Regions from separate parts of the Homo sapiens genome. Here all the other regions are linked to region 3. The links are contacts of gene promoters, found by promoter capture Hi-C in blood cells and fetal thymus (Javierre and others, 2016). All regions are on one chromosome and are shown on one strand. The core of a region is centred on a gene start or on the middle of the fragment in contact, and the rest is flanking DNA. Distances in the headings are between cores, read along the strand shown.

Region 1 (4,082 bases), core at 1,249-3,748, 4.9 Mb after region 3:
TCCTTTTAAGCAGACTGATTAAAACACGATGTTCAAGGATGCCTTCAAAATAAAGCAATAGATCAACTGCTTTGTATCTGTTTTTAACAGAATAAAAGAACAAAAACAATGTGTTTTCTAGAAGAGGAACAATTTCTGGACATCTTGACATGGAAAGATTCTTTTTTTTTTTTTTGAGACGGAGTCTTGCTCAGTCGCCCAGGCTGGAGTGCAGTGGCGCCATCTCGGCTCACTGCAAGCTCCGCCTCCCGGGTTCACGCCATTCTCCTGCCTTCCCGAGTAGCTGGGAGTACAGGTGCCCGGCACCATGCCTGGCTAATTTTTTTATTTTTTTAGTAGAGATGGGGTTTCACCATGTTAGCCAGGATGGTCTCGATCTCCTGACCTCACGATCCGCCTGCCTCGGCCTCCCAAAGTGCTGGGATTACAGGCGTGAGCCACCATGCCCGGCCGGAAAGATTCTTTAACCTAACACCCAACATAATGTGCTCTTAAAAAACAAAGAAAAACCCTATGTCTGCTTTCTTCTTGTGAAAAAGTAATACATCCCTAACAGTTTTCACCCTTTAGAGTTTCTAAAGAACCCAAGGAAAAGTGACATGTTCGTATTCTAAAAGATGAAAAGGACTTAAAGACAGATGGTTTTGAAATTGGTTCTGTTCTCAGCATTTCACTCTGGTATTTATTTAAAAGGCGTTTCAGCCTACTTCTTCTGTATTCATCTTGCTCCATATACCTAACCACTCCTTTCTACCCAATTCACAGGCTGATGATCCTGACACTGTCTCTCTGTCTCCAGCTCTCTTCTTTATGACCTTTACCACAGAGAATACTTCCCTTTTTCCATATATAAACTAAGCTCCCAGTTTCCTGAAATATAGGCAACACTACAAAAGACATTGCAGCATATCTGGAGTACTGAAACAGGAAAAGTTCCCTTGCCCCCTTCACAGGGTGTGCGATGGGGGTGTGGCTAGCTTCTTCAGTACCCCACTGCTCAAACTTTTAGGGGAGCACACAGGCAGGCAGGCTGTGGGGCTCTGACCCCACAGCAGTGTCTGGGAGTGAATGTTTACAGCTGAAGCTCCAGTGGGCATATGTTACAAGGTGCTCTTTTAGTTTAGCCATCCCGCTGCTTGTGTTAGTAAGCTCAATTAGACCCACGCGTTGTCGTAAGGACGGAGGGCTTTCTGTATCCTGGGGTTCTTGCCTTGGTGTACCGGAAGAATCGGATCACACATGGGCTTTGAGAATAAATGCAAGCTTTTATTGAATGGAAGTAGCACTTAGCAGATGAGAGAGCCAGAAGGGAGATGGTTTTCCCCTGGAGTCAGGCTGCACAGTAGCCTGGGCTCTCCTCCAACTGCCCCTGCCAAACTCTGCCTCATTCCGCTGGTCGATGGCCTGATGGCCTGTTGGCGTGCCAGTGTCTGTCATGTGCTCTTCCACCAGCATGCTCCCCTCTACATCCTCTCAACGTCCAGCCATTTGTGTCTTCTTCCACCAAGGTGTTCCTCTCAACGTCCAGCTGCTTGTGTGTCTGCCTGCTAGTCGCGGTTTTTATAGGATGGGGGCGTGGCGGGCCAGGGCGGTGCTGGGAAATGCAGCATTTGGGCGTGAAGGTAGAAGTGCCTGTCCTCACCTAGGTCCGTGGGCACAGGCCCAGGGGTGCAGCCCTCGCCGGGGCCCTGCCCTTCTCCTCCCAGCACTTCCTTGCTCCCCTTCCATATCACTACTGCCAGAGTATAAGAAGTTAAACACCAACTAAGATAAAAAGAAAGACTATGGCTCCTTTCTGCAGAAGAACTTTGATCAAATGTTTGTATTACAAATAAGGAGGTATTTATTTGAGGCTAAAATAGACCTAATTCTAAAATAAATAAAATAAAGCAAACATAAGAGAAATTTTAAATAAAAACCTTTACTCAGCAATTCTACCTTTGTTTAGTCAAGAGAAGTAAAATGCATGTCCATACAACTATTTGTGCAAGAATATTTATAAAAGCTTTGTTCATAATAGCACCATACTGGAGACAGTCTAAAAGTGCATTAGTAACAGAATACATAAACAGATTGCAGTATATCCACATAGTGAATATGTTCAACAATAAAAAGGAATGAAGTACTGATATATGCAATAGAATATATGAATATCCATAATGTTATGCTGAAATAAAGAAACCAAACACAAAAGAGTGCGTACTATATGATTCCATTTATATGAAATTCTAGAGAAAAGCAAAACTAATCTATGGTAACAGAAAGCAGACCAGCAGTTGACTGAGGCCAGGGATGGGGGTGATGGGGGAGATGACTACAAAGAGGCATGAGGCAATTTCTTGGGGTCATGGAAAGGTCTTGATTGAGATAGTGTTCCCATAGTCATATACATTTGCAGAATGTCATCAAAATGAACCTTTTAAATAGGTACATTTTACTGCACGTTAATTATACATTAAAGTCGACTTAAAAGCAAAACATCCTAAAGCTGGGCCTTTCCCAATTCTTATTACTGTAAAGACATAATTGACTTTAAGTGACATTGTTATTTACATAAATGTTAAAAATATTTTTATTTAACATAGATTCTTCATGCAGATACATTAATTTTCTTAGTCATAATTTAATGGAATTTAATAATTCATGATATTCATATGTCAGAGTGGTACAGTCATGTGTTACTTAATGATGGGGATACATTCTGAAAAATGTGTTATAGGTGATTTCATATTTGTGTAAACATCGTAGAGTGAACTTACATAAACCTAGAGGGTATAGCCTGCTACATACCTAGGCTATAGCATAGCCTATTGCTCCTAGACTACAAACTGGTACAGCATGTTACTGTACTGAATACTGCAGGCAGTTAAAATGATGAAAAGTATTTGTGTATCTAAACCTATTTAACATAGAAAAGGTACAATAAAAGTACTGGTATAAAAGATTTAAAATGGTACGCCTGTTCAGGGCACTTACCATAAATTAAGCTTGCAGGACTGTAAGTTACTCTGGGTGAGTCAGTGAGTGAGTGGTGAGTGAATGTGAAAGCCTAGAACTTTACTACACACTACTGTGGACTTTATAAACACTGTACACTTAGGCTACATTAAATTTATAAAAAGCTACTTTCTTCCTTCAATAATTAATTAGTCTTAGCTTGCTGTAACTTTTTAAATTTATAAGTTTGTTAGTTTTTTAACTTTTTGACTCATTTGTGATAACACTTAGCTTGAAACACAAACACATTGCACAACTATACAAAAATGTTTTCTTTCTTTATAGCCTTATTCTATAAGCTTTCTTCTGTTTTTATTTTTTTTTACTTGTTAAGCATTTTTGTTTAAAAAATAAGATACAAACACATTACCCTGGGCCTACACAGGTTCAAGATCATCAATATTACTGTCTTCCACATCCACATCTTGTCCCACTGGAAAGTCTGAAGTGCAGTAACATACATGGGGCTGTCACCTCCTATTATAACAATGCCTTCTTCTGGAATACTTTTTGAAGGACCTGCCTGTGGCTGTTTTATTGTTAACTTTATTTTTATAAGTAGAATGAGTACACTCTAAGGTGACAATAAAAAGTACAGTGTAGTAAATACATAAACCAGTAACATAGTCATTTATTATCATTATCAAGTATTATGTACTGTGCATAATTTTATGTACTATACTGTTATATGACTGACAGCACAATAGGCTTGTTTACACCAGCATCACCACAAACACATGGGTAATGTATTGCACTATGAGGTTAAGACAGCTATGATGTCAGCAGGAATTCTTCTGCTCCATTATTATAATCTACGAGTATTATAATCTACGAGACCAACATCACATGTGCAGTCTGTCATTGACCAAAACATTATTACAGAGCTCATGACTGTCTTAGGAAAACATGTACTAACCATCCGCATCTTTGTTTTTTTTTTTAAGAGTTGGGAGTCTCACTATGTTGCCCAGGCTGGTCTTGAACACCTGGCCTCAAGCAATCCCCCGGTTTCAACCTCCCAAAGCATTGGGATTAAAGGCATGAGCCACTGCACCTGGCCGTATCCTCATCTTTATAGAACAAAA
Region 2 (3,974 bases), core at 1,096-3,595, 5.0 Mb after region 3:
ACTTCACAATACCCTCTATTTCAAGAGAAACCAATCAGGTTATGGGTTTGTTAGTAATAAAAATTACCAAGGAGCAGTTTGTGGATGGTAAAAGCAATGCAAATTCTAAAGAGAAGTCATAAGAGCAATAATAAGCATCCTCCTCACTTCTTGGAAGTGAACAATTCCAAGCTCCCTGAAGCAACACTTAACCTATCATATTAAACAGTAATGGACAAATATTAGAAATGTTGATGTCAGCTTTCAGAATCTGTGGGCATCAAAACATCACTTAAGTTCTCCGAAGTATTCTCTGTCAAGTTTCCTTCTACAGTATTCTTTTCCTACTAGGACAGAGCCTTAAGCCCTAGAAGAATAATTTTGCTTGTGTGTTAATTATTTGTTTACTGGTTCATTCCAGAGTGTGAGCTGGAAAAAGGGGGAAGTGTCATAAATAGTTTTTTATGGCCCATGGTTTTTCAACTACGTCACTATTGGTAGCAGTTTCCACTGCAGGATCTATTTGCAAAGCCTAGGAAATTAGCATTAAGCAAGCTGCTAGGAAGACTTCAACAGTAACTAGGCCACAGGCCTCACACATTTTTCCTCCACCCCAGCCTCCTCTGGAGAGTACTTGCTAAACCTCTGTGACACATAATGAAGCAAAGAAAGTGATAGAACAACAGAATTACACGGGCAGATCCTTGTTTCTTCTTCTCTCTCTAAAGAATTCCTTGGACTGAAAAGCAGTTTATTTTGGAGGAGTGAGAAAGTGGTGACAGAATTAGAAGGGCCTGGGAGGGCTTCATTTTAGGAGACAGTTTTAGGCTGAAAAGAGATTTCATGAGTGTGATTTACCTGAGGTGACTTTTGGGGGCTCTTATAAAAAGGAAGTTCATGCTGAATGGGAGGTGGCTTCTGAGATGCAGATTCTGGTGAGCTAAGAGGGCTCGGTAAAGAGGAGGCAGGAGTTAAGTAGCGTGAACTATGCAGTAGCAGCCTTCTTCCCCCCTTGCTTGGGGCAGGTCATCACAACCCTTCTCAATAAAGGGGTCCAGGAACCACTAGGAATAAATGGGCATTTGCACTTCAGGTGAAACCCATTTGTCATAACTGCTTGGACTTTAAGCTTACAAATAAAAAGAACCACATATTTCCCTTTGCAGCTTGATTTAGTTAATGTCATTTTGAGAAAGAAAGAAGACATTGTTATCCCGTCCCTTTTTTTTTTTTTTTTTTTTTTTTATGAAGAGACTGGGACTCAGAGAAGTCAAGTGATTTTCCCAGAACCAGAAAACACAGAAGTAGCAGAGCTGAGATGACTACTCCGGTCTTCTGATTCCAAATTCCAAATTCATTCTTCTAAGCGATTTCCCAAAACGGGAAATGGGTTTATCTTCTATTTATGGGAAGTGATAGTGGTATTCTATTTAGAGAACTTATATAAAATCTTACTTTAAAATAAATAATATTTCAAAAAGTAAGCTTAATTTAAAGAAAATAATCAAGAAAGTCTGGTATATTTTTACAAATATACCAAATGACCTTGCTCTAAAATACATCTACTTTCCAGCAAGCCAAAGTGAAACAATTTGAAATAAGTGGCATTTACTGACCACTCCCTAAAGTTCACACAAAAGAGGTAGTACTCTAACTTAAATATACAAGGTGAAGAAATAGCTTACTCAGCCTGTTGGGCTTCCTCTTCTACACTCTTGGGAAATGCCCTCCGTGTTAACCAAGAATTCTCAGGCCTTGGAGGGAGTTTTCCATTCTCAGTAAACTGAGATTGCAGTTGCGGAAATTAAGAGGTATCTGTCCAGCACTTCATTCCCTTAAGGTCAGGATCTGTGCTTTTAATAATGACAATTAGCTAACATATACAATTAAGCCATGCAAATGAAGTAAGAGAAAGCTAGAGGAGAAATTCAGGAGCCAGTTGCCTTTTCCAGACATCTTGTACAAATAGTGTTCAAAGGACTAATTCAAAAGATGGGATTCTTCGCTTGAACCCAGGAGGTGGAGTTTGCAGTGAGCGGAGATCGCTCCACTGCACTCCAGCCTGGGTGACAAAGTGAGACCCCATCCAAAAAAAAAAAAAAAAAAAAAAAAAAAAGATGGGATTCTTTTTTAAAAAATAAATTTTACTGCGTATTTTTAAGGTATACAACGTGATGTTATAAGATGGATATAGATAGTGAAAAGGTAACTGTAGTGAAGCAAATTAACATATTCATCATCTCACATAGTTATCTTTTATTTGTTTTGTTTTGATGGGATTTTTAAGATAGTAGAAAGGAATGGTAGACAATAAACATTTGAGGGAAAGTGGGGCTTTGTAGAACTCCTAAAATGACAGCACGCACAAATGTCCCCATTATGTCTAAAGGGTAACTCGTTCCTACTTCTAGGGACAGCTGAGGGACATCAATGTAAATTTCTAAATGACTTCCTGAACTTTTTATTTTTATTTTTTGTATTTTTAGAGGAAATTATAATAACATCAAGCCACCTCTGGACCATATCGCTGCTGATATCATCAGCAAATGGCACTATTCCTAAATCCTAAGATGCACTTTTCCCTTCACATTTCAACATTTGTGAAACTCGATTGTACCTACACCTGATTTTATATACAATGCAGCCTTTCCTTTTCTTTTGTCATTGCATCTTACGCCTGATTTCTCCTTGGAATTGAGTAAATATAATGCTTACATGTGTTAATAAGAATTGAGGTCACTCATAATTTTTGAAATATGCCACCAAATATAAGCCTTTCTACATATTGTTGACTTTGAAGTCATTTCTTTTTTTAACTACTAAACAATAACACTTTTTGTTGAGAAAAATTGCATATGAACAAGAGACCAAGCAGGTAGAGAGAAAAAAACTTTTAATAATCAAGAGAATGTTACTGTGTCCCAAAGGCTAAAGTCACCTTACTATCAAGAGAGAAGGACAGGAACAGAGAGAACCAGGTAAATTACGAATTGAAAATTCCATGGTTCATTTATCTTTATTTTTAATAATTCCATTTGTGTGATTGTGTTGACCACAAGGTCATAATGTTACTCTTCATACTGACTTCTCATGTAAATTATAAATAAGTTTTTATGCTAATGATTTATGGAGTAAGCTATTCATCTTTCCGACAGAGAGTTACCTACAAAGAAATAATTATTCTACCTCTGAGATGAAATATCATGAAAGGAGTGGTTTCCAGATATTTTGACTTTTAAAAGCTTAAAGAATATATGTAGTATAAAATTCTAAAGCAGGCAAAATTAATCCTTTTAGCAATCAAGATAGCGGCTACTTTTGGTGAGAAGGACAAGGTAGTGATAGAGAAGGGGCTCAGGGGTCTTTCCTGAAGACAGTGAGGTGGGCAATGGTATTTTCCTTGACCTGGATGGTGATTAAACAGATGTGTTTACTTTGTGATAATTGACTAGGCTGTGCACCTATGAACTGCATACTTTTCCATATATGTACTGTATTCTTATACTTAAAAAGAAGTTTAAAAATAAATGCAACAGATATAGGACTTCCTATATTACTCGTTGACCAAAAAAATGGATTCATTTTTCTTTCAGGTAAAACGTACTAGTGGTTTTAATATTATATTGACCAGGGAGTAAATGTTTACCTTAGGAACCTTAATCTTGATGTTCTCCAAAGTCATTATCTGTTCTTTCTGATTATCAGAATAGAGTATATCTCTATATAAATGAAAATTTCTGGTCATTCTCAAAAAATAACACTAAGCATGAAAATCAGAAATATTGATCTTGTTTTGTAATGATGTTTCTATTGATGTGAAGTAGTTTCTAGTAGAGTTGCTGTCCTAACACACAAATGAAATTGCACTGTTTGGAAGACACAACTGTGAATGACTTGCTTCAGTAAGGAATTTCCAACATGATGGTTTAGGGATAGAGGTGCTCGATTCCTCTGTCTCCGGTTACCCAGGTTATTGAGGACAGGGAGGTCAATAA
Region 3 (3,985 bases), core at 683-3,182:
ATCTGTCTTAAAACTATACAGCTTGTCAGTGGAGGTTCCAAGATTCTTACCACTTGGTTCTGGCTTCAATGCCCATGCCTTTTTGCCCACATCTATATCAAGAATTGAAAAGACATCTGGACCAGCTGCCTAGCCAAAGTTTGTATTCTGTATTCAGTATGTAAGCCAATCAGAAAACTGGTGATTGCGTAACACATTCAGTTGCTGGGGGTACATTACCTCCTTATCTGGAACTGCAGATGTTTCCTTGCAACTTCTTTCTGGGGCCTCCATTTATTGGGGTCATACAAAATAAAAGATTATCCCTTTATCACTTAGAGAACACAATTTTCGTGCCCTTTTTGATTATTTTGTTTCTGAGTGAAAATTTCCCTATTATTTCACTATACCTTAAAATTTTGAATACTGATTGTTCAGATTTAGTCAGCTTCTACTTTGTCTAGGGTCCTTTTAAAGGGAATGCCAGAACTCAAGTACATTTTCCATGTGAGATCTGATGAACATAGAACAGAATAGAACTATCACCTCTGTAGACTTAAGATTTTTGTACTAACTGTATCTTTGTTTTCCTAGGGTGATACAATTCTGGAGACTGGAGAAGTAATTCCACCAATGAAAGAATTTCCTGATCAACATCATTAAAGATTATGTAAAAAGTTAAAAGGCTTATGAGCCTAAGTTTGTTCCTATATTACCATATTTACTGAATTTTCTGGAAAAGTAACTTTAATAAAGTTTAATCTCAGAAATTGTCATATCTGTTTTCAAGCATTGTACAATTTGAGACTGAGTAATTTAACAATAAGTAAAAAGTGGACATGCTAAACAAATATGAGAGACTACCTACTTTTTCTGGTCATTCTTGACTTGGAAAACGGTATGGAAAAGTATTTAGTTACATGTTTGTTTGTTTTTTTCTTACACAGTACTTACACTAATTTGGTATCAGGGTATGCAACAGTGAAATATCACAATAAACAAATGTAAGAACAGCAATTCCATGCACTTTTGTTTTAAGGAAATCTTTCCGGCCAGGCGCAGTGGCTCATGCCTGTAATCCCAGCACTTTGGGAGGCCGAGGCGGGCAGATCACGAAGTCAGGAGATCGAGACCATCATGGCTAACACAGTGAAACCCCGTCCCTACTAAAAATACAAAAAAATTAGCCGGGCGTGGTGGCGGGCTCCTGTAGTCCCAGCTACTGCGGAGGCTGAGGCACGAGATTGGTGTGAACCCAGAAGGCGGAGCTTGCAGTAAGCCGAGATAGTGCCACTGAGCCTGGGCGACAGAGCAAGACTCCGTCTCAAAAAAAAAAAAAGCTTTCCGAATCATTTTTGAAGAATTTAGAAACTTGATTGAAAAGCTTATTCCAACTATGATCTGACACTCAAGACTGTCAGATTTAGGTTGCTGTTAATTTTGTCATGAGAATGTAAAATACTAAAATCTCTAAGTGAAAAATTTGCATACTAGTGCTTGTTATAAAGGATAATGCAAAAATAAACTTGGGAACTTTGCATTATGAATTTTATTTTTATATCTACATAAGCATGAGGGAAAGAACTGTATTTTCAGATAATTAAATCCAGAAGAGTTACAAATTTTCATTCGTCCCAAAGATTTTGTCTGGGTATTTCTTCCTTAGCTGTCGTCTTGCAGACACCATCGAAGCATAGATGATGCAGCCCCAGGAGATTAAAACGATGGCAAGCAGCAACTAAACCAAAAATCGCAAAGGAGGTGTGAAATCTACCTGATATTTCCCCTCGCCCCCGTCAGGTTACCGTTGCCATTGCTAAGGTGGGAATTAAAGTAACAAAGTCGAATAAATGGGGTTCCAGTGGCGGGTACACCCAGCAGCCCTTACGTAAGAAGCGGAAGATCGTATCCTCCAGGAAGAGGCGGAGTCGAGGTGAGGGAGTGAAATGCTTAATTCAGGAATGGATTTTGGAGTTTCTGGGTGCTGAAGAAATAGGGCCTTTCCGCCTGCGGGCCCAGTGAGTCGACACGGTGGGGGCCCGCGATCCCCGGGACTTACCACTGAATAAATCCAGTCCAGCGTGCGACGACTTACTGGCTTCATGGTAAGGAGGCGGCAGCAGTCCGCGGGAGCTGGCGGGAGCTGCGGGCCTTACAGTAACCTCCCAGGCGGTGGCTGCCAGGCGCCAGCAGCCATCTTTTAGCCGGGCACGAGCGCCCGCCCACTCGCTTCGTGCAGCGCTGTCGCTGGCCTCTTCCGCCCGGAGTTGGGGGGCGGTATCACGTGATCGGGGGCCTTGCCCGCCTTTTAGAGAGGGGAATAAACGAGAAAATGTTAAAAATTGCTTTTTTTTTTTTTTTTTTGCCAACTAAGGAGATAGGCGTACCTCCACTGGTTTTCTTTCTAGTTGCAATGCAATATTAATGCAGGATAAGGTGCTGTCGTGTCCATTTAAAAGTTAATTTGAAAAACAATCCACGTTTTAAATATTACGTCTGGCTCTAAAGCTGGAAGAATTAACGCTTTCTCCCCCGCTCCCTCCCCCACGCCTCCCCGCATCTGATACCACACGATTTAGATGGACGTTCGCCTGTTCATCTTTGACGTAAAAATACCACCCACTCTTTTATATGTGACAAATCGTTGTGGGAACCCCTGTAAATCGAGCCATTCTTCAGAAACGTATAGCGTAATGTATATCTCTAAGAAGAAATACGTGGGACGCGTTACCCGCCATAATGTATCAGTCAAGCAACAAGTGTTTGTTGAGCGTGTCTGATGTTCTTGAACTGCCGCGCGTGAGATACTAAGCCCCGAGCACGGCAGTTTGGTGGGCGAGCGTACCAGGTTCAGCTCTAGAATGTTTGGGGCGCTCACATTTGAGGCCTGAGGAGTAGAATCTGGCAACGGGCCGCTTAGGCTCTAGACGTTCTTTATACCTCGCAGTTATCTTAAAAGAGTTTTAGTCTAGATTTCAGGGAGTGGGAAGGGGAAGAGCGGAGAAAAACGTGGTCTGTTTAGGGAGGAGTCCAGGCCCTGTTTTGTTAGGTTGTCCTGTTTCTCCCCAGCCTGGAGGGGATCCCTCTCTGAAGACTTTATAGGATACTGGTTGGGCTCTGGTTTGGGATCCCGTTGGACTCCTGGTGTTGCTTCCGGGAGGCGTACAACAGGAGGTGAGAGACTTCAAGTCCATCTAACAATTCCCCTATCTAGACACTAAAGATAATTTCCTAAGTTTCCGCAGAGTTTGGTAAGGTTGAAACGACATCGAACTAGTTCTCGTGTTTTCCGGGTAAGTTAGGGGCGAACATTCAGTCAGTGTCCCCAGTGGCTGAGTACCAGTAACAAGATGGGGAGGGTCGCGCTGCCCTCCTCCGGGGTCTGGAGCGGCGGGGGAGGGGCCGCATTTGGGCCGGTGCGCTGAGCCCCGCCCCCGAGGCCGGCGTCCATCTGCTGCGCATGCGTGAGGAAGGCGGGTGTTGTGTTTTGATGCGCGGGAGCTGGGGGGTGGGTCTCGCTCTCTGCCCTGCTTCCGAGCTGCCATTGGTGATGAGCCCTTTGCGTCACAGGGGTCGCAGCCGCCGCTGGGGTCTCCGCTGTCTCGCGAGGAGGGTGAAGCGCCCCCGCCTGCTCCCGCTTCGGAGGGTAGGCGGAGAAGTCGCCGGGTACGCCTTCGCGGATCCTGCCGACACCGACCTAGCTTTCTGGGCTGCCGGGAGCTCGCGGCGAGCGCCCCAGCCAGGCCTGCGCCGGCATCCTCCGAGGTGAGTGAGATTCGGAACAATGGGACGCGGGGGTCGGAAGGGCCGTGGGAGTTGGCGCTCCCGCCTGGAGCGGCGCCTCGGGACCCGAGGGTTGCGGTCATGGCCTGCGGGGCTGTCCGGGCCTCGGCGGGCCAGGGCCAGGGCCCCCGAGCGGCTCCTGCGCGCACCTGTGGATTGGTGCGGGCAGGCGAGGGTTGCGCTTCCCACAAGCGCTCCCGAGGGGCGCGAGCCTGGCCGTGTA

Evidence for each region. Contacts are between HindIII fragments. The CHiCAGO score rates a contact against its expected background, and 5 or more counts as called.
Region 1: a contact is called between a fragment that was not itself captured here and the fragment with the promoter of TOPORS in region 3, in 1 of 17 cell types (M0 macrophages). The highest score is 7.2, in M0 macrophages.
Region 2: a fragment that was not itself captured here is called in contact with the fragment with the promoter of TOPORS in region 3 in 1 of 17 cell types (M2 macrophages); the score reaches 5.7 in M2 macrophages.

Annotation. Positions count from the first base shown.
Region 1 is chr9:27,652,379-27,656,460 of GRCh38, reverse strand. No RefSeq gene overlaps it. Among named protein-coding and RNA genes, the nearest start is that of C9orf72, 81 kb to the right of the region's middle. The HindIII fragment of the contact is 982 bases long and covers 2,008-2,989 here.
Region 2 is chr9:27,597,002-27,600,975 of GRCh38, reverse strand. No RefSeq gene overlaps it. Among named protein-coding and RNA genes, the nearest start is that of C9orf72, 26 kb to the right of the region's middle. The HindIII fragment of the contact is 1,757 bases long and covers 1,467-3,223 here.
Region 3 is chr9:32,550,533-32,554,517 of GRCh38, reverse strand. TOPORS (TOP1 binding arginine/serine rich protein, E3 ubiquitin ligase) reads left to right here and starts at 1,932. Exons shown (of 3, transcript NM_005802.5): 1 at 1,932-2,084; 2 at 3,550-3,744. The coding sequence starts at 2,082. SMIM27 (small integral membrane protein 27) reads right to left here and starts at 2,191. Exons shown (of 2, transcript NM_001387564.1): 1 at 2,039-2,191; 2 at 1,511-1,717. The coding sequence starts at 2,083. The coding sequence ends at 1,595. NDUFB6 (NADH:ubiquinone oxidoreductase subunit B6) reads left to right here. Exons shown (of 4, transcript NM_002493.5): 4 at 574-1,517. The coding sequence ends at 642. RefSeq lists enhancers at 1,444-2,157, 1,962-2,291, 2,302-2,511, 2,158-2,872 and silencers at 3,152-3,371, 3,872-3,931. The HindIII fragment of the contact is 29,085 bases long and covers 1,366-3,985 here.